Regions from separate parts of the Homo sapiens genome. Here regions 2, 3, 4, 5, 6 and 7 are each linked to region 1. The links are contacts of gene promoters, found by promoter capture Hi-C in blood cells and fetal thymus (Javierre and others, 2016). All regions are on one chromosome and are shown on one strand. Each heading gives the region's core, a stretch centred on a gene start or on the middle of the fragment in contact. The rest is flanking DNA. Distances are from core to core; before and after follow the strand shown. Region 1 holds the start of MICU2 (mitochondrial calcium uptake 2). Region 2 overlaps TNFRSF19 (TNF receptor superfamily member 19). Region 3 has its middle 7.8 kb from the start of LINC00327. Region 4 overlaps SACS (sacsin molecular chaperone). Region 5 overlaps SACS (sacsin molecular chaperone). Region 6 overlaps SACS (sacsin molecular chaperone). Region 7 overlaps SACS (sacsin molecular chaperone).

Region 1 (3,808 bases), core at 451-2,950:
GTGTGAGGCAGTTAGAAGTATACACGTAAAGACTGTGGTTTCTGGAAATCAAGAATAAACTACAAGGTAAGACATCCAGGGTGTCCAAAATATCCTGGAAGTCCTATTATCACCAGGAAACAAGCTAGATGTCAATAGTCCAGAAAAGCAGGACATGTGCCAAAGCTACCAGAGTTAGCAGAGGTGAAAAACAGTCCAGAGGTTGACAAAGTCAGGCTAGATACAAAAAAGCAGGAAAATCTCAGGTTAAGATGGGCTAGTGATCTGGAATCATGGACATTCAGTCAAGCTCATTTGTGTTCACAGGGCAGAAGTAAACCAAACCTTGACCACAGTAAACGCACATCTGTCATGAGCCTACCATGTGCCAGGCATTTGGCTAGTCACTTTATATAAAATATCTCATTTAGCTTCCCCACCCCAAACTGTAAGAGGGTTGTTCACAGATGAAAAAATTGAGACTCAAAGAGATTAAATACCTTACCCCAAATAGCAGTGATCATCTACCAAATCGTGAGTTATTTACAAATGAGAAAATGGAGACTCAGAGAGATTAAATAATTTGCCCCAAACCACAGTGATCATCCTGGTAGAGCTAAGATTCAAACCTTGAGGTCTGGCTCACAAGTCGGTGAAGTGAGGCTCATCTCTCTACTTCCTACCTGGGAAGGCACACTGAAAAGTAAGTCCAGAAGCTGACGGAAAAGTGAGGAACCTCTGACTGCAGATTAATTTAGACAAGCGGGCTAAGAGAAAGGGAGCAAGGATTAAGGGCAGATAATAACAAAGGGATCCACGGAACTTCCACTGAATGATCAAATTAGATTTCGTGTGACAGGTTTTTGTTTTTGTTTCTTGAAGTTTTGTTTTGTGCAAAACTTCAAGACAGCAGTGATTATGTGATTAGGAGTCTTGGCCCCTTTGATGTTGGCTCCGTTACTGCATGCCCAACTAAAGCTTCTAATAGCTGGGGACATTTCAGAGGCTGAACAAAGAGTTTATTAAAAAGAGTTACTCAGGAAAAGTGAAGACCAAAGAATGGAGGATTGGAGGCTGTTAAATAAAACCAAGTAGTCTGCCTCAGCTACATCACTTATCACCAATGCAACAGCCAGGACTGGAGGTATCGTTCTAAATCTGCACTGGGGAAAACCTCTGGGTCCCTGATGATAGAGACATGGGGCTGGTGTGCTGCTGTCTCTGACTTTTAGTTCTAGGTAGGATAAGAGCTACTATCAAACCTTTTGTTGAAACTGAATTTAAATTCATTATAAGCAAATAGTGAGGGACTGAAATAAACAGAATGCCTTGTCTGAGAGTTGTTTTAGCAGAAATGAAAGAACAGTCAAGACTATAAGCATAGGAAGACATGAACAACACAGATGCAGAAGAGACTATTTCAAAAAACGTTTCACAGTTTTACAAGGTGAAAAAATGAAAAGGAGAAACCTGCCCACACAACCGAGGGCACTATCTTGTTTTGGACTAGGAAGTCATATTATACTGTCTTGATACTCTTCCTGTCATCCCATCCCCACAGCCTTAGAAGGCAGCCCCGGAACCGAAGGCCACCTCTTGCGGCTGCGAGCGTCGCCTCAGCAACCGCACCCACGGCGCAGGCCCGGTAGGCGGGGCGGAAGCCTGTCGGATGTCGCGAGAGTTCCCAAGCGGTAGGCGGCGGCGCCGGGAGAGAAGCGCCGCCTAGCTGCGCTTCCGCAAAGATGGCGGCGGCTGCGGGTAGCTGCGCGCGGGTGGCGGCCTGGGGCGGAAAACTGCGACGGGGGCTCGCTGTCAGCCGACAGGCTGTGCGGAGTCCCGGCCCCTTGGCAGCGGCAGTGGCCGGCGCGGCCCTGGCAGGAGCAGGAGCGGCCTGGCACCACAGCCGCGTCAGTGTTGCGGCGCGGGATGGCAGTTTTACAGTCTCCGCACAGGTACAGGACTAACTCCTTCTGCTAGCCCCAGTCAAGCTCCTCCCTCCCCTGACGCCCTTAGGCGGGGAGTGGTTTGGCTCTGGGCGGCTCTCCCGGAGCCGTGGGTGGAGGTGCCGCTGCGGATCGGAGCGCCCTGCGACTGGTGGGACTCGCTCCTTCCTGGACCGGCCCCCGGCCTGAGTCCCCGAGGGCCTTCGAGGCTGGTGACCGGAGATTCTGCCTCCCTTGGGAGAACCCCGCGGACGCTGAACACCACGGCCCACAAAACTGGCCGCACTAATTTAGTGGTGATGAGTGTGGGCGTGTCTTAATTCGAGGCTCCTAATTCAGAATCTCACTGCGCCTCGCCTCTTGCTACCTCTCTGGTCAGTGAAGTGGCATTCACATCCGCAGGTGGTTTGCGTCCAGTTACCCCTGTGGGATATACCTTTGTTAAGCTTTGCAACTAAGTTTTACGATCTTTTCTTTGTATAGCATGATGAAGTTCTGTCGATTGCTTTTTTAAGTCACGAATGTGTCAGCCACAAAAATTAACCAGTTGATTTCCAGATTTTATTATCAACTTTAAGGAACATTATTGCATGATTATAAACCTTAATATCTTAGTGGACCATAAGTTCTAAGCAAAAATTGCTCCTAAAACCTCCATCTATTAAAGACAAGAGTCCGCCGGGCGCGGTGGCACACGCCTTTAATCCCAGGGCTTTGGGAGGCCGAGGCGGGTGGATCTCCTGAGGTCAGGAGTTCGAGACCAGCCTGGCCAACATGGTGAAGCCGCTCCCCACCCCAGCCCCGCCCCCCCGGTCTCTACTAAAAAATATAAACAATTAGCTGGGTGTGGTGGCGGGAGGCTGAAGTAGGAGAACCGCTTGAATCCGGGAGGCGGAGGTTGCAGTGAGCCAAGATCGAGCCATTGCACTCCAGCCTGAGCTACAAGAGCGAAACTCCGTCTCAAAAAAAAAAAAAAAAGATTCAAGTTCCCTATTTCAGGATAAATGATGTTGTAACGCATTTGAAAATTTGAATGAGTAGTGCTTTAAAATTTTTGTAGACTTAGTAAGTTTTTACATATGAGCTTTTTTGAAAATTGAAAGTAGTAGTTTATTATTTTCTTTTTTAGATTTACATTATGCCTTTCTAGCGAAAAACTCAAGGAACATTCAGATACAACAAAAAAGAGAGGAAAGAAGGCCTTGTGAGTTAAAATTAAGTATTGGCAACTGATATTCCTTATTTGTATTAACATACATTATAATTATATTGTAAACATATATAATGGAAAGATCTATTATCTAGTGTTTTTATAGCATTTTTGTGAATCTTGTGCCAAGGAGTTCAGTGTATTCATCATTAGTTTCTCTCCCCTAGATTCATCCTGGTTTTTTTGTTTGTTTTTTGTTTTTGTTTTTGTTTTTTTTGAGAGGAGTCTCGCTCTGTCGCCCAGGCCGGACTGCAGTGGCGCTATCTCGGCTTACTGCAAGCTCCGCCTCCCGGGTTCACGCCATTCTCCTGCCTCAGCCTCCCGAGTAGCTGGGACTACAGGCGCCCGCCATCGCGCCCGGCTAATTTTTTGTGTTTTTAGTAGAGACGGGGTTTCACCGTATTAGCCAGGATGGTCTCGATCTCCTGACCTCGTGATCCGCCCGCCTTGGCCTCCCTAAGTGCTGGAATTACAGGCGTGAGCCACTGCGCCCGGCCGATTCATCCTGTTTTTAAGACCCTTAGGTTAATCTTCTCCGGAGTATCACTTTAACCACACAGTGTACCCTTCTTCAGAAACCCTTCTTCAGTGTCTCATTTTGCCAAGAGTAAAATGCACTTTTTTTTTGTTGTTGAGATGGAGTCTCTGTCACCCAGGCTGGAGTGCAGTGGCGTGA
Region 2 (3,808 bases), core at 719-3,218, 2.0 Mb before region 1:
CTCAGAGTTGCAAGACACACTCCGGCCAAAGAAACAAATAACTTTTATGATTGCTCTGAAAATACTAACACCACCTCTCAGAGTTAGCACTTACTATGGAAAAAAGTTTCCTAAAGTCAGTAAAGCCATGTGGCTTTGGTAATAAAGTAGATATGGTAAGACATTTTCATAGATTAAAAAGTAAAGAACAGAGCTCATGATAATGCTTCATGCATTGATGCCAAGGCTATATTGTGCAAATGAAAATGCATTTCTATGTTTTGTTTTACTTTCAGAACAATTTGATAAGTGTTATGCAAAGAAGCTTTCTTTTTAAGTACTCACATCTCTGTGAATGTCAAAAATTGTCTTCCACACTAGGACTCAATTCTCACCCCTCCAGTTCTATACCTTTCAATTAGATAATAAGCACTGCCTGGAATTTTTAAGACTACATGAAAGCAGTGTTGGCAAAAACGCCTAAGGTGAAACTGCACCACAGAAAAGGTACTGAGTAAATCCTGAAGTAACGCAATGTAATCCTCCCTTTTGCATCTAATATCTGATCATGAAATGACAACACTAAGAAATATCGTTTGCATGAGGTATGTTTAACAATAACTGTTTCCTGTTTACATAAAGAAATTGTTTGGTTTTGTAGTCAAAGAAACTGTCATGGGGTAAAAACTACGTCTTCATACATATCTTGGGTTAAACTGTTTCAGTTAAAAGAAACACTGAACAATGGTGATGATTTTGTATGCATATTGAGTCCTTTATTAACATGCAAACAAATGACATGGGTTTCTTACAATAGTGAACGGAGACTGGATGACTAGTGCACTACCATCAAAACAGATCACAGAATTTTGATCCGCCAAACTTGATCTCCAGGAGTATATTAGCCAAATTTCTGTCCCATGAGATGGCATTACACGCATTGTAAGAGCTGGCTTTCTCACTCTCTAAATCTATCACAGGCTCTACTCATCAATATACTAATAATTCCTGCTGAACTCTAAGGAACTCTTTCCCACAGAAGGAATATACCCTGGGCCGCTCACAGACAACGCTCTCCCGCCGCTGGCGCTGGTCCGGGATGCGGCCCCGAGACCCCTGCAGCCGCGCGCTGGCTCAGGGGACCTCCGCAGGACGCGGGCGGGCGCCGGGGCCGGGTCGGGCTTGGGCAGAGTGACAGGCTCCCAGTCGTGAGCCTCACAAGCAGATCTATTTACAATATCCCGGATAGGAGTCCAGGTCGCGTCGCTCGCGTCGCCCGCGGGGACCCGGCGTGAATTCACACGCTCCCCTCCCACCGCCTCGCCGCCTGTCACGGCCCCGAGACCCGGTCAGCCCCTTCGGGGGTTCCCTTCGCCGCGCAGTACTCCGCCCGTGAGCAGCCCCCGCCTGCGCTCCTCCCTCCCTAGGGCGGCCGCCTCCACTCCCGGCTCCCACCCAGCGGGGATCCACCAGGGCGAGGGCTGAAGACCTCGCGGGACGCCGCGCGCCGGGGACAGCGACGCACCTACCTTCCCAGCCACCTGGGAGGCTGCAGGTCCGGGCCGGAGCCCGAGGCTCAGGGGCGCGCGGAGCAGTCCTGGTTAAGGCGCAGGGCGCGGGGTTGCATGGGGGTCCAGTCCAGCGTGCACACCGTGCACCTCCCAGCGCAGGGCTCCGCGCTCTCCCGTAGCCCGGCAACGGCCGCCACCCCAGAGCCCCGCCCACTAGGAGCCCCGCTCAGGGCACCGCCCACCCGGGCCCCGCCCTCACCGCGGCTCTCGCCGTGGCTCCGCCCCCGTCCAGAGCCCCGCCCCCAGCGCACACTGCGTCAGCCGGACTTGCTCTGCAGCTGGGTTCTTTGGAGGCCCCCACTCCGCGGCTACTGAAGCGGATGAGTGTGAGGCTGACTGGGGGCTTGGGGATGGGGGACCGGAGACCACCAAGAACATGGCTGTGTTGGGAAACTTTCCTTCAGAGCAGAGAGGGAGGGTTCCTTTCCGCCGGGGTGTTCCCCACCTTTCAGCCTTTCCCGCGTGGGCCCGCATCCCAGCCAGAGGGGATACGGCGGCCAGGTCTGCGCTGCTGCGCCTGAGCTCAGGTCGGCAGAGGTCGCAGACCTCGGCTCCTCAGCCGGCAGGGACTCGCAGGTGCGCGTTCCCACGGACGCCTCCCGGGGAAGCCCGAGTTCGCCTCCTGCAGGCCGGGAAGCACTCGCCCCGAGACGGCCGCACCCTCGCAGCGGAAGGGCGTCTGCACCACAGCTGTAGCACCAGCGCGTGCGAGGCGGGGCCAGGGCCGGGGACTCACTGGGCAGTTTTGCTGAAAGGGTTAAGAGAATCGCGTCTGTAAAATACTTTTCCACCAGTAGAATGCTGTAAAAGTGCAAGCAGTATTGTTCTATTCGTTCACCCAAGATACGGTGCATGACTTTGGTACCAAGGCATCCACCGTTTCTCACGTGTTGGTTTTGACTTCCCACTCAACTGCACTGTGTGGATGGACCCAAGTCCCTGTTTCTTGTCTATACCCCAAGGCCCACTGGAGCCCCTCCATCAGTATTTGTTGAATGAATGAGTGAATAGGTTGTTGTATTTAATTGCCCAAAAGCACAGCTTGTGATCCCAGGCTTCCAACGGCGTAGCACTATACTAGGTACTTGTGAACAATGTTAAAAATATTATTCCCGATGTCACACCTTGATAGAGGTTGTATATTTCAAATCTAACACATCCAGAATATAGATCCCAATAACGACTTATTGGTAAACGATTTCCAAATGATGTACGTTATCTAATTTGAACCTCAAGGCAAGTGTGTGCTTCCCTGTCCCATCTCCCAGCGGCTACCCGATCAGACTCCAGCCCTCAGTGCACATCACTACCATATTCATTCCCACATCCCGCTGAACTTCTTTATCTGTTTCCTTCCCCAGCTACACCTGGATCTCCCGAGGGCATCTCCTAATTCCTTGATATCCCGGGGCCTAGCACACGATGGATACTCAGCACTTCTAAGCTGAGTTACTGCATCTTCCTTTGCAAGGTCTCACGCAGTCCCCCATCGTCCTCTCTTTGTCTTGGTGCCCACCACCTCCTTCACCACCATGCAGACCCTCCCCACCCCTCACCACAGCACTGCCTCGGTCATCAACCCCGCTTCCCGCCTTTCATCACTGCTACTGTCAGGCTGAAGAGTCACAGGAGGTTCCTCACTGTAAAGAATGGATTCTGCGCTCCTTAGATTAGCATTCCGAGATGTCCAGGTGCAGCCCTACACCTATTTCCAGCCTTGCCTCGCCTCTGGAGCAGGCTTTATAAACTGCGCCGCGTGGCCCTTCCTTTGCTCTCTACTTCCTCTTCGTGCTCTCCCATCTTACCTCTGAGCTTTACCTACTTGTCTTACTCCAGTTTCAGCACCTCGCTCAAAAGCCACGGCTCTCACGAGTTTTCCCTCAATTCTGAGCCTATGTATTTCCTTGCTCCAAGGTTTGTGGCAATTTAGCACTTGCCCATTGTGTCCTGTATCATAAGATTCTGTGTACTAACTTTCTTCTTCAAGGAGTTAAAAACACTTTCAGAGAAGGGGCATATTTTGTTCCGATTTGTATCTCTGACAGTATCAATCATTCAAATAAATGTTCAACCAAAGCTTTCTGAGTGGAATTGAATCTGCCAGCTCAGGAACTACCTTCTCTGACTTCAACCAAATGTTCTTCTTCTCTCTGACCTCCTTTTGTCCTTAGAGACAGTAGTAACACATTACTCAGTTCATTAGTTCTTGAATCATTTTACGTGTTTTGACTGATCTTCCCGGTTAGCCTGTTAGCTTA
Region 3 (3,808 bases), core at 965-3,464, 1.9 Mb before region 1:
CCTCATCTCCTCGTCTTAGAAAATCACCAGTTATATCAGATAAGGACCCACATCAATGGCTCGATTTTAATTTTAACTTAATTGCCCCTTTAAAGAGACTATCTCTGAATTATAGTCATATTTTGAGGACTGAGAGTTAAACTTCAACATATAAATTTTTGAGGGGGACATGATTCAGCTCATAACAGTGTTCTCGAGAGTCTTAAAAGGTACAGGCCCTTCAGAGTGTAAAATGACACATACAGAGATAACACTCTGATGTTATCTCACGTCTAGACTCAGTCCACACATCTTGGCAGGACTACCTCAGAAGTTATGCTGTGTTCTTTTCAGGAGCAGGAGCCAACATTTTTCAATTGACCAAGTTGGTGTCTGCCAGTTCCTTCATGATAAAGTCACCATCTTGGACTTTGTATTTGATTAGTGTTTGGGTGGAGAGATTTAATGTCATGTCAGTATCCTGTTCTTTTGTCAAACCTTCACGGGTATCCTTAGCATCCAGTTAGGCTTTTGAAGTTAAGAGAGGGGAAGGAAAAGTGGAAAGAGAAGAAAAGGTGGAAAGAATAAAGTTTAAAAAAAATGTTAAGATAGCATTTTAAGGTACTTAACTGGAATGTTTAAAAGGGGAGACCAGTAACCTTCTATTTTCAGTTCCTTGTTTTTCTTGTAGCTTTGCCTAGGATGGCTACAGTAATGCTTACATAAATCAAAAAAATGTGCTCTAAAAGAGAAATTTAACTGAACAAAATCTCATTAGTAATGATAATTCAGCAGATTTTTTTTTTGAGAGTTTACTATGGGCTAAGGTTTCTCTAAGTATCAGTTCTTTTCATTCCAACTGCAATTAGATGAGGTGGCATTATTGTAATTTCTGTCTTACAAGTGAGTAAATCGAAGTATAAACATTCCAGGGTCCTACAGCTAATAAGCCTCCTTGGAGTCTCTGGGTCTAAAGCCTGTGATTGTAATCATTACCTATATTGCTATCTGGGCACAACGCAGCTACTAGTATCTGCAGTGGTAGAGATCTGAGGTCCTACATGCTCCAAAGTTGAGTTCATTTCTACATTTAGTGTCAAAATGACGAAGTGGTTTCCAAAATTGGAAAATGAGTTTCCATTCCCTCTTCTAATTAGAATTTTTAAAATGTTTTCTTTGTTTTGTTTTTCAATTTCCAAATTTTGTTTTTCAGAGGAAGTAATGCCTTATCTTTCATTTCACTTAGCTAGCTCAAGGAGAGGACTGAATTCTTTTTTTGGAATACGCAATGACCTGAATATGCAGTGTAAGAGTCAGTAGCAACAAGTGCAAGTCAGTGAAACAATTAGTTTCATAAACACAAAACATGGCCTGGCCAGCAAGGGAGGGCCTGAGTGCAGTCTTTAGCACGTCCACACACCACAGGGCAAGATGTTGGACCAACCCTATTTTTACCTAAGACCGGGAGGAGAGCAAATATCTCCTGAAACTGGCTAATTTTCCAAGCCAGGAGCTTTATACAGTCTAAACGACCATGTGAAGTTAGCATTTTTACCTTCATTTTGTGACAAGCAAAGTGTGGTTCAGAGAGATTAAGGAGACAACCGTAGGTCAGTGCTGGAGCCCAGATGTGAACCCACATTTGTCTGGCTATCTCCAAATCTCATGTTCTTTTTATTTATATCACACTGACTGCTTTTCGGTGAGTGATATCCCACTAAGAATTGAGACTGATTCTCAACTCCCCCAAAGCCATGTGCCAGGCTCTCCTGGAATGTGGTCAGCATTCGATGGGTGGGAATGAGGTGCCCAGGATTGAAGGTGCTGCTGTCAGGGAGGACCCCAGCTGCACTCACAGCTGTGTGACTTGGGTATGTTCCTCAGGCCATGTGTTCACCATTGTGCTCATCATAAAATAGGGATTATATCATCTGACTCATAGAGTGAAGGGGATTAAATGAGATAGTTCATACCACATGCTTAAGACAGGGCGTTGCAAATAGTAAGTGCTCAATAAAAGTCAGCAATTATTAATTTATTATAACTAACTGGTCTGGTTAGACTGCTGATTGAATTATGAATTTGGAAAGCTGTTCCATGAGGGTTACAGAACAGCCCTATCCTATTCAACGGCTTAAAAGGGACTTGAGTATGTGTATGGCATACATACTCTTTACATTTAGGATGATGGTAGCTTGGATGGTAGGGTCAGATACCCAAAGCCTGGGAATCTGGAGTAGTATGCAGCTAGACTGTGTATAGATGCCTTAAAAAATCCACCATCAACTCAGTGGCTTAAACCAGCACTCATTATTGTCAGCTGATCTCAGCTCTAGGCTGGGGCACTTGAGCTGGGGCACCTGTGCTCCATGTGTCTCTCAGCCTCCTCTCAGGGCACAGCGGCCATCCCAGACACAGCCTTCTCATGGTGATGGCGGAAGCATATGCATCCAAGTCCAGTCATGGAAACACTGTTCAGGGGTGTATGATCTCATAACTCTTAACTTTCCATTGGCCAAAGCAAGTCACATGGCCATGGTGAAGGCTGGAGAATGACACCACCCTGCAGAGTGAGGGCTCTGCAAAGCTAAGCAGGACAGAGTGCACGGAAGAACTGGGACCATTCGTGCAGTATAATATAGGCTGGATTCAAGCAGGTGGATACATTTAAGATTTTTTGTTTTTGTTGCTTATGTCCAAATTTTATCCCAAGAAGACAAGCCTAAGCAACAGCAACTGTAGGAAGGAAGTGGTTGACGCTATGTTTCCTAATAGGTAAGGAGACCATGCAATTGTCATCCAAACTAGGACATTCAAGAGTAAAACAAGAGCATCATTAACAATTCAGCCAGGACAACAGGCATATTGGAGACTGTCCTGGGCAAAGTGAGACCTGCGATCACCTAATGTGTAGCTTAACATATTGCTATGGACATCATGTGCTCAGGCTGAATTACTGGGTGTATAACACTAGAGGATGAAGAAGACAGTTGTGCTCTCCTTAGTGCTGGGCTGGCCATACCTAAAGTATTGTCTTTATATTCGAGTTTTCAAACTAACTGCTCTGTTTAGAAGAGAGGTGAGGGTGCTGTGGGGTGTAGAAACTTTGTCAAATGACTCTTGATGCAAGGAACAGAGCATATTTGTGAGAAATAGGAAATGCTTATGGGACACTTGACATCTGTGGTCAACTATATGAAAGTCTGTTGCAGAAAAGAGGAATTAGACATGCTTGGTATTATTGCACAGGATAGACCTTAGACCAATGGTTCTAAAAAAAGAATATTGAAATCTGAATCAGAAAAATTATATCTTATTTCTACTTACCAGCTGTGTGACTGGCTAAGCCATGCAACTTCTCTGAGCCTCAATTTCCTCATTTGGAAAGAAGCAATAATGTAAATAAATAACTCAGTCTTGCTGTGAGGATTAAATGAGATTGTGTTCGTATTATCCAGGGTTCTCCAGAGAAACAGAACTGATAGGATATATGTGTGTGTGTGTGTGTGTGTGTGTGTGTGTGTGTGTGTGTGTGTGTCTATACATATATGTAAAAGAGGGGATTTGGCTCATATAATTATGGAGGCCAAAAAGGCCCATTATCTGTCATGTGCAAGCTGGTGAACCAGGAAAAATGTGGTGTGAATCAGTCTGTGCCTGATAGCCTGAGAGCTGGGGGAGCCAATGATGTAACGCTCTGTCTGAAGGTGAAGGCCTGGGAATGGGGCGGGGGTGGGGGCTCTGCTAGTGTATGTCCCAGGGTCCAAAGGCTCAAGAGCCAGGAGCTCTGATGTCCAAGGGCAGGAGAAGATGGATGTCCCAGTTCAAG
Region 4 (3,808 bases), core at 840-3,339, 1.8 Mb before region 1:
GAATGCAAAGGAAGTGTTTTTGAAGGAAATTAAATAGTGCTATTCCAGTGAATACAGAAACTATAAGAAAGCAAAACAGCCTTATTACTGATTAGGAATCAATTTGAGTGGTCTGGATAGAAGATCAAACCAGCCATAACATCCCCTTAAGCCAAAGCCTAACCCAAACAAAGGTCTAACTCTCTCCAAATCTGTGAAAGCTGAGAAAGGTGAGGAAGCTGCAGAAGAATTTGAAGCTACCAGAGGTTGGTTCATGAGGTTTAAGGAATAAAGCCATCTTTATAACATAAAAGTGCAAGGTGAAGCAGCATGTGCTGATGGGGAAACTTCAGCAAGTTCTCCAGAAGATGTAGCTAACATAACTGATGAAGGTGACTACACTAAGCAACAGATTTTCAATGTAGATGAAACAGTCTTCTGGTGGAAGAAGATGCCATCTAGGACTTTCATAGCTATAGAGGAAAAATAAATGCCTAGCTTCAAAGGACAAGTTGACTCTTGTTAGGGGCTAATGCAGCTGGTGACTAAGTTGAAGCCAAGTTCATTTACCATTCCAAGGATCCTAGGGCGCTTAAGCATTATGCTATATCTACTCTGCATGTGCTCTATAAATGGAACAACAAAGCCTGGCCGACAGCACATCCATTTACAGCATGGTTTACGGAATATTTTAAGCCCACTGTTGAGACCAACTGTTCAGAAAGAAAGATTCCTTTCAAAATATTACTGCTTATTGACATTGCACCTGGTCGCCCAAGAGCTCTGATGGAGAAGTACAAGGCGATGAATATCGTTTCCTGCCTGCTAACACAGCATCCATTCTGCAGCCCACAGATCAAGGAATAATTTTGACTTTCAAGTCTTATTATTTAAGAAATACATTTTATGAGGCTATAGCTGCCATAGATAGTGATTCCTCTGACGGATCTGGGCAAAATGAATTGAAAAGTTCCTGGAAAGGATTCACCATTCTAGATTCCATTAAGAACATCCATGATTGGCCAGGTGCTGTGGCTCATGCCTGTAGTCCTAGCACTTTGGGTGGCCGAGGCGGGTGGATCAGCTGAAGTCAGGAATTCGAGACCAGCCTAACCAACATGATGAAACCTCATCACTACTAAAAATACAAAATTACCGGGCATGGTGGCACATGCTTGTAATCCCAGCTACTTGGGAGGCTGAGGCAGGAGAATCGCTTGAACCCAGGAAGCGGAAGTTGCAGTGAGCCAGGATCACACCCTTGCACTCCAGCCTGGGCAACAAGAGCAAAACTCTATCTCAAAAAAAAAAAAAAAAGAACATCCATGATTCATGGGAGAAGGTCAAAATATCAACATTAACAGGAGTTTGGAAGAAGTTGATTCCAACCCTTGTGGATGACTTTGAGGAGTTCAAGATTTCATTGGAGGAAGTAACTACAGAAGTGATGGAAACAGCAAGAACTAGAATTAGCAGTGGAGCCTGATGATGTGACTGAGTTGGGGCAATCTCATGATAAAACTTTTTTTTTTTTTTGAGACAGAGTCTCCCTCTGTCGCCCAGGCTGTATTTGTATTTTTAGTAGAGATGGCGTTTCACCGTGTTAGCCAGGATGTTCTCGATCTCCTGACCTCGTGATCTGCCTACCTCGGCCTCCCAAAGTCCTGGGATTACAGGCGTGAGCCACCATGCCCGGCCAGGAATGTACATTTTTAAAGACATAATGCTATTTCACACTTAATAGACTATAGTATAGTGTATAAACATAACTTTTATCTGCACCGGGAAAACAAAATATTATGTGACTTATTTTATTGTGATATTCATTATATTGCACTGGTTTGGAACCAAATCTTCAATATCTCTGAGGTATTCCTGTGCCAAAAAAATGAAATTTTGGCCCAAAAAATGAAAAAGTTTTAGATCCTGCATGAATGCCAATGATTCCTTCATTCTCTGGTCCTCCACAGTCTGAATCCCAACTCCCCTTGGGCCCTGTTTTTTTCACCATTACATCTCCCAAACTAATATAAAGTGAATGGGTGCATCTCTTCCTTAGGCTTTGAAAAATTGTTTTGGAGTTTGCTGTGAAAGGATAAATCAACTCACAACTTTCTCTAATAACTAGTTTATTAATATCTGTCCAATAAGAGAATTATTAAAGAAATGAACACAAAACAGAAAAGTTAAGAAGGACTTCCTTTTCTTCCCCTAATTTAAATTTGTACAGAGATGGTAAGTGGTTATAGTGAGTGGTCATGACAAGCCACACATGTGAACATCACTACATTCGCTTATTTGGCAGTGAATGATGTGGAACACAGAGTGACATACAAGAGGCCATGATCAAGAGGGACTTTCCATAGTTGATGAGTAAATGCATTTCATTCCTGTGCAGTCACTGATGAGTGGAAGTTAAATGCTGAAGATGTCTACGAAGGCGGAAGTCACCTTGCACGGGCTTGGCTAGAGAAAGCCTTCTGCTCTTCTGCCTGAGCACTGATTGATGGGTGGAAAATCAGTAATGTTATTTGAGTCTTCCCATCTCTGATGTCTTTTATTGCTACCTCCTGAAATGTGAAGGAGTGTTTCTAATACCCCATTCATGCACTTAACCACTTAAGTATGAGATCAGTATTCTTCCATTACATGATTTAAGGCTGAAGTTCTAGCTTTTTAACCAACCCTCCCCAGAAAGACCTTGCGATGACCCTTCTTACTGATCTCCATCCTGATTTGTGCACACATTTGCTGGGTTCTGTGCCAGGCACTGGGGTTGGGGAGAGGGTGATGGTGTGAACAAGGGATATGGAGGCATGTTTTCTGCTCTTGAATGTCTCCAGAGGGGGACTTAGCAAGTAAATATGTGGTTTGTGTAATATGGAAAGAGCTGGGATGGGTGGATATACAAAGTATTCAGAGAGAGTAAGAAAGGAGACATAAGCGTCGTTTGTCCTGGACTTATTGCCGTTTTTCCTTAAACAGTGTTGGGGGGAGAGAGACAATTTTGAAGTGACATTTGAATGGGGCTATCAAGGGTGGGCCATCAAAATTGAACATGGAGGGAGGAGCCAGATGCTGCAGGAGGAAACAGAATGGGCTGAGAAAGGTGCAAAAAAAGCAGTACAAAGGCATGAACAGGCCTGCAGAGCTCTGGGGCTGTTCAGGAAGGAGGGATGGAGACAAGGCTGGGAAACATTTGGACATTACGATGCAGGTAACTTGAACTACTAAAAATATCTTGATGCTGGGGAGGGATTTAGTCACACTCGATTATACAATAACTTGATGGTAATATGAAGGGTTGATTGGAGGAGAAAGGATGTGGGGCAGTGAGAACAGCTGGGGCCCTGAGTGGTGGCCTGAGTAAGGGACAGGAGAGAGCTGTGCCAATACCAACAGGAGGTGGCAATGAAGCCAAACGATATTTATCGTGGTCAAACACTTCGACATGGTGGCTGATTGGATGTGTCAGTGGAGGGTTTTCTGAGAATGACCACCGTTTATTACTTGCAATATTAATTTTGTAGCTATAATATTTTCAGATTATTTAAACCAAAATTGGAAAATATTCAGAAAACTGAAAAAGTGACAAAGGCTTAAAACCCAAACATACACATCACAGTTTTAATTACCAATGAATTTAAAAATATGTTTTCTATCCAGCCTGGGCGACATGGTGAGACCTCGTCTCTACCAAAAAAAAAAAAAAAAAAAAAAATTAGCTGGGCATGGTGGTACATGCCTGTAGTCCTATAGTCCCAGCTACCCAGGAGACTGAGGTGGGAAGATCTCTTCAGCCCAGGAGTTTGAGGCTGCAGTGAGCCAT
Region 5 (3,808 bases), core at 450-2,949, 1.8 Mb before region 1:
CTTCAGTATCTTGGCCCTGGTTATATTTTCTAGTTTAGATTGTAAACTGTGAGGGAATCAGGACTAGGTCTCTTTAATTTAAGAGAGTCATGCTCAGGTAGGCACTCACTGAGGACTGTTGTGTCTTTAGTGATCATGGTGAGACTGGGCTGTTGGAGCAGTCCATCTTTCAGCATAGGCACCAGTGGTTCACAGAAAGCGAATTCAAAAACAGTTTTTGTATTGACTTATTAGGAAAGTGAGGATGGAAAGAGTATTGCTACGAGGTGGTTTTGGGGTAGAAAGAAGTGAATAGAATACATTTAAAATAAAGGTATAGTGGTAACAGGAGTAGGTTGTCATCTGTTTAGAAGTGAGCGAGTGGGATCCTTGCTGAGAAATGAGAAAGGTCTATGGCAAACAGCTGAGGGCTACGCGCCTTCTGCTTTGCTTATAGATATATTTGTATTGTAGCCAGTTCAATGTAATCTTTGTTCCTTGGATGTTGTGGTAGAATTAGACTGTTTTAGATTTAATAGGAGTCTTAGAAATCACCAAGACCTACACCACCACCTTCTATGGTATTTGTGTTTGCTGAAACAGGTCCAGAGATCTTAGTGGCTTGCCCAAGACCAAATACAAAATGTATTGTTGCTGTTTCCCAGAGTTAGTTTACAAACAATCTCTCAGGATTGCAATTTAGGGGAAAAGCTTCCTATCCTATTTTTTATTCAACTTGAGAATGAGTGGAACCTGGGACTTAGATTTTATCTTTAGTTTTCTGCCTCTCTGCTCCCTAAAGTACACATAAATAATAAATAGATACCTGAATGAAAACAAGGTCGAACATCTAAAGTGCTATCATTTTGTAAGTTAACATTGTTTTTCACTACCTATTTAATTCTTATTTCCATCCTTCATATTATTATAATATCCTAATGTAAATAAGATTGTTAATTTTTAGGGATTCTCTGGGATTGAATGAGGCCTAAAAAATTAAAATCCCATGAGAAATAGTTAGTTACGTAACAAGGAAGAATCACTAGCTGATAATGAGGCTGCAGGAGGCACGACTTAGCTGTTCATGTTTGGGGTGGAACAGCTGGTGGGTACCACACTCCAGCCCTTTGGGATGCACTGGGTGAACTGAGCACAATCTCAGAACTGACTTTTCACTTCTGCTCCCTCAGTCTCCTTGTAGTTATTTTGTTTCATGTAGTCATCGTACCACCTCTCTACTCTGATGTAGGCATCACTGTTGACATTGTTGTAGTATCAGTTAAAGTGCTCTTCAATTTTTGCCCATCTGTACCTCCAATTTAGTGATCCCAAGGCTCTGGGGAAGTAAAAAAGCTCTTTTGATGATCATGGGGTTGGATCTAGGAGCTGATTCTTGATTCAGATTCTGGAGCTCCCTTCAAACTGAACGGAGCCCAGCGTGATTTTAGTAGGTGTGCAGAAGTGATTGGGGTTGTTAGGATTGGAAATTTTGTTGAGGCAAATCTTGCAGTTTGCCCTTTCCTTTCTACATTACGGGGAGCTGGTCACCCTTCCACTCACCCACCATTCACCAAACAAATGGTAGTGCTTTCTTCTTGATGAAAGGAATGAGTCAGTCCTGACCATCTGGAAGCTTTCAGTTTAGTGCAGGACAAAGACATTTTTATATCTCAGGCTCTCAAGAAAGCAGCCAATTGAAGGGTATATATAGATTGCTACTATTTGGTTTTATTGTTTTTCTGTGGAAAGGTAAGTTTAGTAAGCAAAGGATAAAAAAGGTCTATTTTTGGCAATCACTCAAGCTTAAGTTACCTGCCACACAGGACGATATGTGCAGCTTTTGGAAATAGAATAATTTCCTTTGAACAAAAGCTTTGGGTAGATTGTAAATATGAGACAGTTATAAATAGGGCCCAGGATTAATTTGCTAAGTGATAGCAAATTAAAAGACAAAATTTAAGTGCAAATAATTGGAGAAGGACTTTTCAACCATACTGTCACATCTATGTAACAATTACTTTCAGTAGTAGCCTCACCAGATCTTAAAGGTAATGTTGCAAATAGTGGGTTTCCTTTATTTAAGTATATTAACTTCTTAAATATTATAGATAAATACAAAGATGAGCAGTAGATTACTGTGTTATTAATTACTATTTTTTGGTATATTTTTTGGTTAGGAATTAATTCAGAATGCAGAAGATGCTGGGGCGACAGAAGTTAAATTTTTATATGATGAAACTCAATACGGAACAGAGACTCTTTGGTCAAAAGATATGGCGCCATATCAGGGTAAGAATCAATAATTAGGAACAAATTTTATTGTATGCACTAACAGGCAGTTTTTAATGATTAATAATGCTTTGTTTAATGAACAGTCTATCATTTGTACTTTTTGGCATGTTTATGTCCACTTCTTCAGATGTTTTTCTCTGCTTTTGGTGGGAAGGTGTCTCCACCAGTTGGTATTTTTAGAGAACAAAGAATAAAATCTGAAAACTCAAAATGACAAGCAATGTAATGACCAAAGCCTCTTATTCTATTCAAACAACTTGTATTTTATATTATCAGTAGGATAAAGGGACACCATTTATGTATAGTAACACTTTCCTGCATTTGGAAAGATGTTGTGAAAGGCCATGCTTTTGTGTATTTTCCGCTTTAGGAGTACCCTCGACATTGTTTGGAAGTTGGGTGGGAAGAAAGATTGAAGGAGAGGAGAGAACAAGGAAAATGAAAGGAAACATGATAAGAAAGCCATAAACTAATAAATTATTAATCCAATAAGAACCCTAACCAATAGACTCCTAATATCTCACTTCTACTCCGGGGAGCTTTGGTGTCAAAAAGAATGTTCATAAATTGTAGTATACCTCTGGCTGGGTGCGGTGGCTCACGCCTGTAATCCTAGCACTTTGGGAGGCTGAGGTGGGCAGATCACCTGAGGTCAGGAGTTTGGGACCAGCCTGGCGAACGTGGCAAAACCCCGTCTCTACTAAAAATATAAAAATTAGCTGGGCGTGGTGGCAGACGCCTGTAATCCCAGCTACTCAGGAGGCTGAGGCCGGAGAATCGCTTGAACTCGGGAGGCGGAGGTTGTAGTGAGCCGAGATCACATCACTTCAATTTAGTATACCTCTGAAGTCATTGTCAATGACTGTATGTGACAGAAAGTTACTGAGAAAAAGTGGGATCAAGTCAGACCTTCTGAGACACCTTTTTAAAGAGATTTAAGTCATGTATTTTTAAAAAGATGTTTTATGATTTAGGAGGCCAGTTAACATTTAGTTAAATATCTAGCATTTGTTATGTCTCATATAGTCATTCTTAGCTCACATTTGTCACTTGAAAGTTGTACTTTCTATACTCTATAAAAAGAGGTGTGTGGGACATAACATCAGGAGGTGTGCGTTCTAGTCCTGACTGCTGCTACCTTAGTGACTTGGGCCAGTCATCACAGAGGTCAGATCATTTTTATAATAAGAGGATTAGCCTGCAAGGTATCTTGTCTCTAAGAGCCTGTGACTTAATGTAACATTGGATTCAAGAGACTTCAGGTTAAGTCCTAATCCTACACAGTACTACCCCATTGTACTGCCCCCCAGGCACTGTTACACTCAGTGGCAGCTGTGACCCTCACACTGACTTACTGCTTGCCTGCAAGTGGTATGAGAAAATCTTTCTCCCACATAGTTTGAGGATTATATGAGATAATATATGTGATAATGTTTTATACCTGGTATCATACTGATGACGGTATGTGCTGTGGAACTGCTAAGGTAAGAGTGTAAGGAGAGCCTATGATGTTTTTGCTTCTAGCCTTGACTTCACC
Region 6 (3,808 bases), core at 972-3,471, 1.7 Mb before region 1:
CCCAAATCTGTTTCTCATTTTGAGTGATCCCACTGAAAATAACACTACTGTCCACAAGATTGCTCAAGAATGAATCCTTAAATTTTCTTCTTTGTTCCCCACAGTCTCCAGGATCTGTTGACTAAATTTTCTGTGCCAGTCCCTTGGTCTTACTCCACTGCCTATTACAGGTCCTCTAATTTCTCGTAATGTTGTTACTGGACTCTTGCAGTTGATGTCCCTGTCTACAGCGCTTGGGCTTCATCTGATCATGTCACCCTCCTGCTGCAGGTTTTCCAGTGGACATTGAATCTATCAGGATAAATCTAGCCCTGCTAGCATGAACTAGGGGACTTTCCATGATTGTAAACTTCCATGATTTTGGAGTGCTGTCTCACTGGCCTTGGTGCATGCAAGCGCCCTCTTCTGTTCTAATTGCCCTCTTCTGTTCTAATTATACAAGCACTTGTAGGTTGATGAACTTGAATCCTCCCTATATTTCATGAGAGCAGAGAGACCTGTCAGATTTGTTACCACCATCTAGCACAGTGCCTACTTCAGTGTAGGTGCTCAGTATTTTTTTTCCTGCATGAAAATTTTCTCATAGCTGCCCTTTTGTACATGGTGTTCCTTTTGCTTAGAATACTTTCTTTCCATCCTCTACTTTGCCCAGCTAATGTTTATTCATCATTCAGTACTGAGCTCATGTGTCACCTCCAGGAAGCTTTCTTTGACATCTTGCCCTGTGCCTCACCCCTGCCCTGCAGTCTGAGGTGAATGCCTCTCTTTTGCTCTTGGAACCCAGTACATAGTCCATATGATCCTCTTTGCTTTATTAGAATCATGTTTTTACTGTGCTACACTGCAACATCCTTGAGAGCAAGGGCAATCTTTATTTTTATATTTCCAAGGTCTGGCCGAGAGCCTGCTTGCCAAGTTTGACTGGATAAGTTGATGCTTCAGCTGCTGGGCTGGGTGGGGACCGCATGGAGGAGATGGGGCGCAGAGGCCAAAAGGCAAATCTCTTTCTTAGTGTCTGTGAGTTAATAGTTCTCTTCAAATCAGTGTCTTCTGTAATCTTGTTTATTCTTTACAACCATGAGATAATAGAGCCTGTATCTCCATTTGAGAGATTGAGACATTGAAGCTCAAAGAAATTGAGGGATTTAAATGACTTGCTTGAGTTGCAGAGTTGAAGCTATGATTTTTGTTTTTTTAATTTCCAGGTCTGAATTATTTCTGTATTAAGTTGCTTAAGTAAATGGATGGATATCAGAAATTGGAGAATAGTTAGAAGAGCAGGTAAATGGATTTTGGATGAAGAAAAAGGAAACAAGAACAGTTTAGTGGTACAGATGCTTGGTGTCGGGTCTTATTTATAATTTTTAAAATTTTCATACTTATTTATTAGATGAGACCAAAATCCGTAACCTTTCCTATGAGGCACTTCATTAGCTGGCTCCATTTTCTGGGTGTTATGAAGATGCCTGGTACATGGAAGGTTCTATTGATATTTGCTATTTTTAATCTCCTTCCCTTAGTTCCATGCTTTTTCCTGTTTGGAGGACAGCATGTTCTGTCCCTCCCTCAGGTGTGATACATGTGGCTTCCTTGCCAACTCCTCCATTCACTACCTCTGCTCATCTTTCATGCAACCCATGTGTGCTTCCATGCTCTGTTCTCCATGGCACTCACACACTGGTACCTGTTTAAGTATTTGTAATAATTTATCTGATACTTGCCTTCTCCATTAGACTGTAGGGCCAGGTCTGGGACCATGTCTAGTTGTCCATTTCTATATCTCTAGCACTCAATCAGTATTGCCTAACTAACAAGGTGCCTGTTGCTAAAGTGATTAGAATGATGTTAAGATGAGAAGAATTGAGTTTCTTTGGTTACACCTTTGCTCTCTATCTTAGCTACTAGTTTAGTTAGCCTAAGGGACCCAAATACACAGAAATCTCACAGAACTGTAGCAGTCCAGTTGATTAAAAGTTTCTTGCTTCATTCAAGCAGAGGAGGGATAGATGTTCGTGGAACAATTCTTAGAAGTTTGTAATTATTGTTGGTTACCATGGACAAGCAGTGGAAATAGATGATAAAATCTCTTTTTCTTTATTATAAAGTTGGAATTAATTGTACACTTTGTGTAGGTACTCCAAAACTTTTTAAAAATTAAAAATTTAAAAAATCAGGTTTTTTAATCTAGAATCTCTGAACATGATAGCCTGTGCAAAAAGCTCACTGGTAGCTTATCAAATGACGTTATGCAGCTATAATGTAATTTGCGCATATGAAGTCCATAATTCTTTCTTTGCTTTCTTTCTGAACCAACACTCCTGACTCTTACGTACTTCGATTTAGTTTGCACTGAAATATAGCTTTAAATCTTAGATGTGTATTCTGCTATGTTTGGAGTTTTGTTTCTGGGTTTTCTTTTACATAAGGATCTGTAAAGATTCTACAGACAGCAGTATCTTAAGATACAGAATAATTTCTGTAGCCATCATGTGAAAACTGACAATTCTGACCTCTTCTAAGAATGGATTTAATTGTATTCTAGCACAACAACAACTCTGGGGATATTCAGGTAGGATAACTGAATGTTGTGTTCATTTGAAGCCTGATGTTTTTGTTCATTTGGCTCTTCGAATTCTGTTTTTGCATTTACCTAAGTAGCTAGAAATTATGTCAACAATTTTTTTTCTGGTGGTAATAACTATAATATTAAAGGAGAGAGGAAACCATACTAATACAGATTTTTATTATTACAAATACCACGGTAAAACCATATTCAAATGACTTGGAAACATTCACTTCATAGAACATTTAGTCTCTAATCAAAGAATGGTGTGGGAATCTGTATTTTAAGCTGTGGTATTTAATGGGAAGTTTGATAGTGAATGCACCTCTATTATACGACGCACACAAATATTCCGATTAAAAAGCATAGAGGGGGCCAGGCTCGGTGGCTCACGCCTGTAATCCCAGCATTTTGGGAGGCAGAGGCAGGTGGGTCACGAGGTCAGGAGTTCAAGACCAGCTTGGCCAAGATGGTAAAACCTCGTCTCTACTAAAAATACAAAAAATTAGCCAGGCGTGGTGGCAGGCACCTTTAATCCCAGCTACTTGGGAGGCTGAGGCAGAAAACTGCTTGAACCCGGGCGGCAGAGGTTGCAGTGAACTGAGACCGCGCCACTGAGCTCCAGCCTGGGCGACAGAGCGGGACTCTGTCTCAAAACACACAAAAACAAAAACAAACAAAAAGAACAGAGAGGGAAGTAGATTCTGGGATCTGTGACTGTGAAGTTAGGCGACCACAGCCTTTCTGTTTTGGAGTCTGGCTCAGTGTGCTACGGTTGGTGACGGCAGGGACCCCCGTCCTGGGTGTGCAGAGGAAGGGAAGGTGGCCAGCCTAGCTCTCATTGGGGAGAGTCAGCCGATTGTTCTTACAGTGCCTCGTGTGTCATTTTACTGACTGCCTTTTTTTTTAATAAATAAAAAATTTTTGACTCAACTAGTGGTCCTATTTTCCCCAAGTTCATGTTCCATTTGGAAACTTATAGGATATAAGATTTGCTTTATAGAAATCATTTTTATGATAAATGTTATTATTTGAAGCAGGTGATACACTAAAATTAGTTTAGAAACCAAGTCATTATTATAGTGATAATTCATATAAAAATTTTTGGGTTTCTAGCTTATATTAAAAGTGGTTTATCATTCACGGTTCTTACTATTATATTTTTCTTAAAGCTTTGTCAATGTATCTTACATGTTTTAAGGTGGTATCAAATCAAAGAGGAAAACAAAATCTTGATATAAGTAG
Region 7 (3,808 bases), core at 667-3,166, 1.7 Mb before region 1:
TCGCCATGCTTCTTTACTTTAACATATTTCTTTTGCAGAATGTAAAAGGTAATGATAATTAGTTTATATAAGTGTACTGGCTGTAAATGATGCTAAATATACTTTATGCAATTAAGGGCTTACAGAACATGTTGAAACTTTTTTTACTTTTATTGGGAATAAGGAATGTTTGCACCTCCACATTTTATTGCTTCTGGATGTGAAATCATGTAATTATTTCTGCTGTTATATAAAGTGCCATACTTTTAATAAAGGAAAATGTACATATGAAATCATCGTAATGGGTGTTTCCTGAGAAATAGTTCATTGGAAATCAAACTTAACATCTTAATATTAAGTTTTAATGTGTGTGTATGTGTGTATTTATTGGAAATATTAGGAAAATATTTTCCTGTATATTTTCATGCTGGAATTATAGATTTTTAGGATTAATAGAATATGAAGTGCTTGTTATATACTAGGTTTAGGTGCTCATTGATTTAGTTGAGTTTATGTCACCTTTTTAGGGAATCAGATTAGCTGATATATGTGGTATATATGTGTTTGGAAACAGATACATTAAATATTTTTTTCCTCTAGGTAGAGCTGAATTGATATTTCCATTGCCTCAGGGACAGCTGCATGTCTGGGACTAATTCACACTTTATTACTGACAGATAGGAGTTCTTCATCTTTATAGTTGAGGCACAAGTCTTCAGAGTTAGGCAGATGAGGGCTAAGAGTGCTCTCTGTTCTGGAGCTACCTGAATTCTGTGCCTTCAGCTTTATTTAAAGTACTTGCTACTTCGAAGCTTCAATTCAGCATTTAGATTTTATTGCTTTTGAATATTAAAATTTACACAGAAAACCTCATTTGGCCTTGATAGTTGATCTAGTTGGAGTTTTGTGTTTTTCCAGGCAAAAAAAAACCCCTCATAATTTGATTTTAGAAAGTTAATACAATTATATATAACTTTTTAATGAAGTGCTCCCACCAGGGACAGGCTGTACCTGTAATCAAACGCATTAGTATTTCTGCAGTTAAGGCTATGAGGGTTCACAGTAAATTGAATACACAGACCTGATCAATAGCCTTATGTAATTTGAATCAGCTTTTGCCACCAATAGTTTACAGCAGACTTATTTGAAAATTTTCACTTTTTCAAGCTTTTTAGATACTGAAATTGAGGATAAGGAATTTTGGACCTGAACTATTTTGTTATTTTACGCTTCCTCCACCCTCTTCCATAGTTTGCTTCTTTTAAAAAGAGAAAGGAAGCTGTCTACTGCTGTGTGGATCAGCTGCTCCTGAGTAGCATGCAGTCTAGGAAAGGGATGGAGCAGCTTCTGCACTCGTGAACAGGGTCTTTGCTGCAGAGGCTCCAGGGACAGGGACAGGGCATCCCCAGAGGGATGGCTCGATTGTTCATAGTCTCCGGGAGGAAACAAGTGAAAAACTTGCACCATACAATTCGTTAACGGAGCAGGGAGTGCCGAGAGCCCAAAAATGATTTGGGAAAAATCTTAAAATAGTATTTAACAGAATGAAGAGGAGTTGTTCACAGGTCTGAGTTGTTCACAGGTCTGATTTTGGGATGAGTAGGATTTATTTCTTTCATTGGTGCCAGTTGACATTTTTGGTAGTTTAAATGTTTTGTAGATCTCAAGGATGACATTTATATAGTGCTGGTAGAAAATAGCATATAGAAGCATATTTGAAGTGGAATTTACTATGTGAAGAAGACTGCTAAAGCCAAGTAAGAGGCGATGTTTCAAATCGAAGGGGACACAAAGCTGCATCAGCAGACACAATCTGAAAACCATCGTGCACAAAATTCTGCTCGTTCAGAAGAGCTTCTACCCTCATTCCCTGTTTCCCATAGGAGCACAGACTGAAGTTTTTGGATGACCTAGTGGGGGTTGGCGGGGGGAACCCAACACACATGGCTTGACTCTTCTAATGTGAATTTGACTGCTTTCAGAGAAGGCATCTGTCCATCCTCCTCATGTAGCAGTTATAGAAGTTGGGAGCCTTTAGTTCTGCCTGTGACCAGAGTGGTTTGTGTTTTATTCAGCTGTGAAGTTATTAGGAAGTCCATTTTGCTGCAAACCAGCTATCTTTATCATTATTTTTTATTTTATTTATTTATTTTTTTGAGATGGAGTCTCACTCTGTTGCCCAGGCTGGAGTGCAGTGGCACAATCTCAGCTCATTGCAACCTCCACCTCCTGGGTTCAAGCAAATCTCCTGCCTCAGCCTCCTGAGTAGCTGGGACTACAGGCACCCGCCACCACGCCCAGCTAATTTTTTGTATTTTTAATAGAGATGGGGTTTCACCGTGTTAGCCAGGATGGTCTCGATCTGCTGAGCTCGTGATCTGCCTGCCTCGGCCTGCCAAAGTGCTGGGATTACAGGCGTGAGCCACCGCACCTGGACCACTATCTTTATTATTAAAGCATAATAGTAGTAGATTTTGATCTTCATCTTTTTGACTGTATCTACTTGTCAGTTCATAAACTGGGAAATAAATGAGTGCTATTTTTAGATCCCTAATGTAGCAACACTCAATAGTCTATAGGAGTATCAGTCTATATACCCCGTGATGTACGTTTATAACCATGACTGTATGCCTTCAATGAAAATTTATATGTTTAATAAGACAGATATATGTAATGCATTTTAGAATACAGCTCATCTAAAAGCTTTGATTCTAATGAAGGATAAATTCCTTATTGTGGAGAATGCATTTATCTGTAACAACTTCTTTCAACATTATTCCATATAGCTAAGGATAAAAAAATAGAATTTAAACCTTTTATTCAAAAGGTTCTGTTCTCCACACTTTCTACTTGACTATTTTTATTTACCTCACTTTATCATCTACACACAAATTTTTGGACACATAATATGAGAACCAAGCTAGTTTATAAATGTTTAGTGATCTAGTGATCCCGTGTTTTATCAGCTGGGCTTGAAGACATATTTCGCACAAACAGGGAACAAAATACCAGGAACCATTTACTATGACAATAGGAATGTCACAGTAAGAAAGCAGTTTACTCAGGACTCAACCAAATGGAAAAAGGTAAATATCAATTTATAAGTAAAAGCACCCAACTGCCTGTGAAATGTGAATTACACTGAGTTGAGTTTGCTCTTAACTGCTTGGAAAGCACTGTATTTTTATTTTGCAATTTCAAGTGTTTATGCATTCTGGCCATTTAAACATCAGGGAGTTGTTATGAGCAGGCTATGCTGTTAAATGAACATCTTACTAAGCATTAGGAATAGAGTTCACTTTTGTACTTTCTCTTGATTCTGAGACTATGGAAAATGAATTTGAACTTATATTGATAGTTATTAATATGTCATATCATTAGAAAGTTGCAGTGCTGTTGGTCTCCCTACACCTATTTGAAGATTCTTCTTATAATAAGTAAAACAAAAACAAATGCACCACTTTTTGTGATAGAGGGCATTTTACAAAGTGAGTGGGTGGCCTACACAAAACGAACCTGTCTTCAGAGGTTCAGTGTGTCCTATTTGATTTCTATAGCACCTTACACAGCCAATTGGCACTAAACATGTTCACAAGCTCTGAGTGTCTTGTTTCTATGAAGTTACGTCCAGACTTGTGTCTATCATGTGGAGGCAAGTACCACAGACTAGCCCTTTGATCTTGGTAGAGACAAAACCTCTTTGGGCTTCAGTTTCTTTGTTTGTCAAATAAGTGCTGTACAATTATCACATAGACGGGTGTTTTGGAGACAGCACATGAAACTTTTTCAAAGTGAAAAGAGCTATGTAAATTTAGGGTTACATTTTGGT

Evidence for each region. Contacts are between HindIII fragments. The CHiCAGO score rates a contact against its expected background, and 5 or more counts as called.
Region 2: a fragment that was not itself captured here is called in contact with the fragment with the promoter of MICU2 in region 1 in 1 of 17 cell types (fetal thymus); the score reaches 5.1 in fetal thymus.
Region 3: a contact is called between a fragment that was not itself captured here and the fragment with the promoter of MICU2 in region 1, in 1 of 17 cell types (M0 macrophages). The highest score is 5.3, in M0 macrophages.
Region 4: a fragment that was not itself captured here is called in contact with the fragment with the promoter of MICU2 in region 1 in 3 of 17 cell types (total B cells, endothelial precursors and M2 macrophages); the score reaches 7.9 in total B cells.
Region 5: a fragment that was not itself captured here is called in contact with the fragment with the promoter of MICU2 in region 1 in 2 of 17 cell types (M0 macrophages and endothelial precursors); the score reaches 9.2 in M0 macrophages.
Region 6: a fragment that was not itself captured here is called in contact with the fragment with the promoter of MICU2 in region 1 in 1 of 17 cell types (endothelial precursors); the score reaches 8.5 in endothelial precursors.
Region 7: a contact is called between a fragment that was not itself captured here and the fragment with the promoter of MICU2 in region 1, in 1 of 17 cell types (endothelial precursors). The highest score is 7.5, in endothelial precursors.

The regions. Positions count from the first base shown.
Region 1 is chr13:21,602,062-21,605,869 of GRCh38, reverse strand. It overlaps MICU2 (mitochondrial calcium uptake 2), which reads left to right and starts at 1,700. Exons shown (of 12, transcript NM_152726.3): 1 at 1,700-1,931. The coding sequence starts at 1,722. RefSeq lists enhancers at 1,517-1,586, 1,368-1,986, 1,987-2,606 and a silencer at 1,757-1,966. The HindIII fragment of the contact is 1,411 bases long and covers 960-2,370 here.
Region 2 is chr13:23,577,230-23,581,037 of GRCh38, reverse strand. The region is part of intron 1 of TNFRSF19 (TNF receptor superfamily member 19); the gene reads right to left. Among named protein-coding and RNA genes, the nearest start is that of TNFRSF19, 8.7 kb to the right of the region's middle. RefSeq lists silencers at 1,058-1,117, 1,318-1,797. The HindIII fragment of the contact is 3,323 bases long and covers 307-3,629 here.
Region 3 is chr13:23,459,852-23,463,659 of GRCh38, reverse strand. No RefSeq gene overlaps it. Among named protein-coding and RNA genes, the nearest start is that of LINC00327, 7.8 kb to the left of the region's middle. RefSeq lists enhancers at 2,287-2,456, 2,986-3,035. The HindIII fragment of the contact is 5,614 bases long and covers 1-3,808 here.
Region 4 is chr13:23,382,849-23,386,656 of GRCh38, reverse strand. All of the region lies in intron 2 of SACS (sacsin molecular chaperone), which reads left to right. Among named protein-coding and RNA genes, the nearest start is that of SACS-AS1, 34 kb to the left of the region's middle. RefSeq lists enhancers at 2,238-2,467, 2,488-2,547. The HindIII fragment of the contact is 4,314 bases long and covers 1-3,808 here.
Region 5 is chr13:23,363,626-23,367,433 of GRCh38, reverse strand. It overlaps SACS (sacsin molecular chaperone), which reads left to right. Exons shown (of 10, transcript NM_014363.6): 6 at 2,157-2,268. Among named protein-coding and RNA genes, the nearest start is that of SACS-AS1, 53 kb to the left of the region's middle. The HindIII fragment of the contact is 169 bases long and covers 1,615-1,783 here.
Region 6 is chr13:23,345,572-23,349,379 of GRCh38, reverse strand. All of the region lies in intron 9 of SACS (sacsin molecular chaperone), which reads left to right. Among named protein-coding and RNA genes, the nearest start is that of SACS-AS1, 71 kb to the left of the region's middle. The HindIII fragment of the contact is 3,032 bases long and covers 706-3,737 here.
Region 7 is chr13:23,325,294-23,329,101 of GRCh38, reverse strand. SACS (sacsin molecular chaperone) reads left to right here. Exons shown (of 10, transcript NM_014363.6): 10 at 1-272. Among named protein-coding and RNA genes, the nearest start is that of SACS-AS1, 92 kb to the left of the region's middle. The HindIII fragment of the contact is 1,536 bases long and covers 1,149-2,684 here.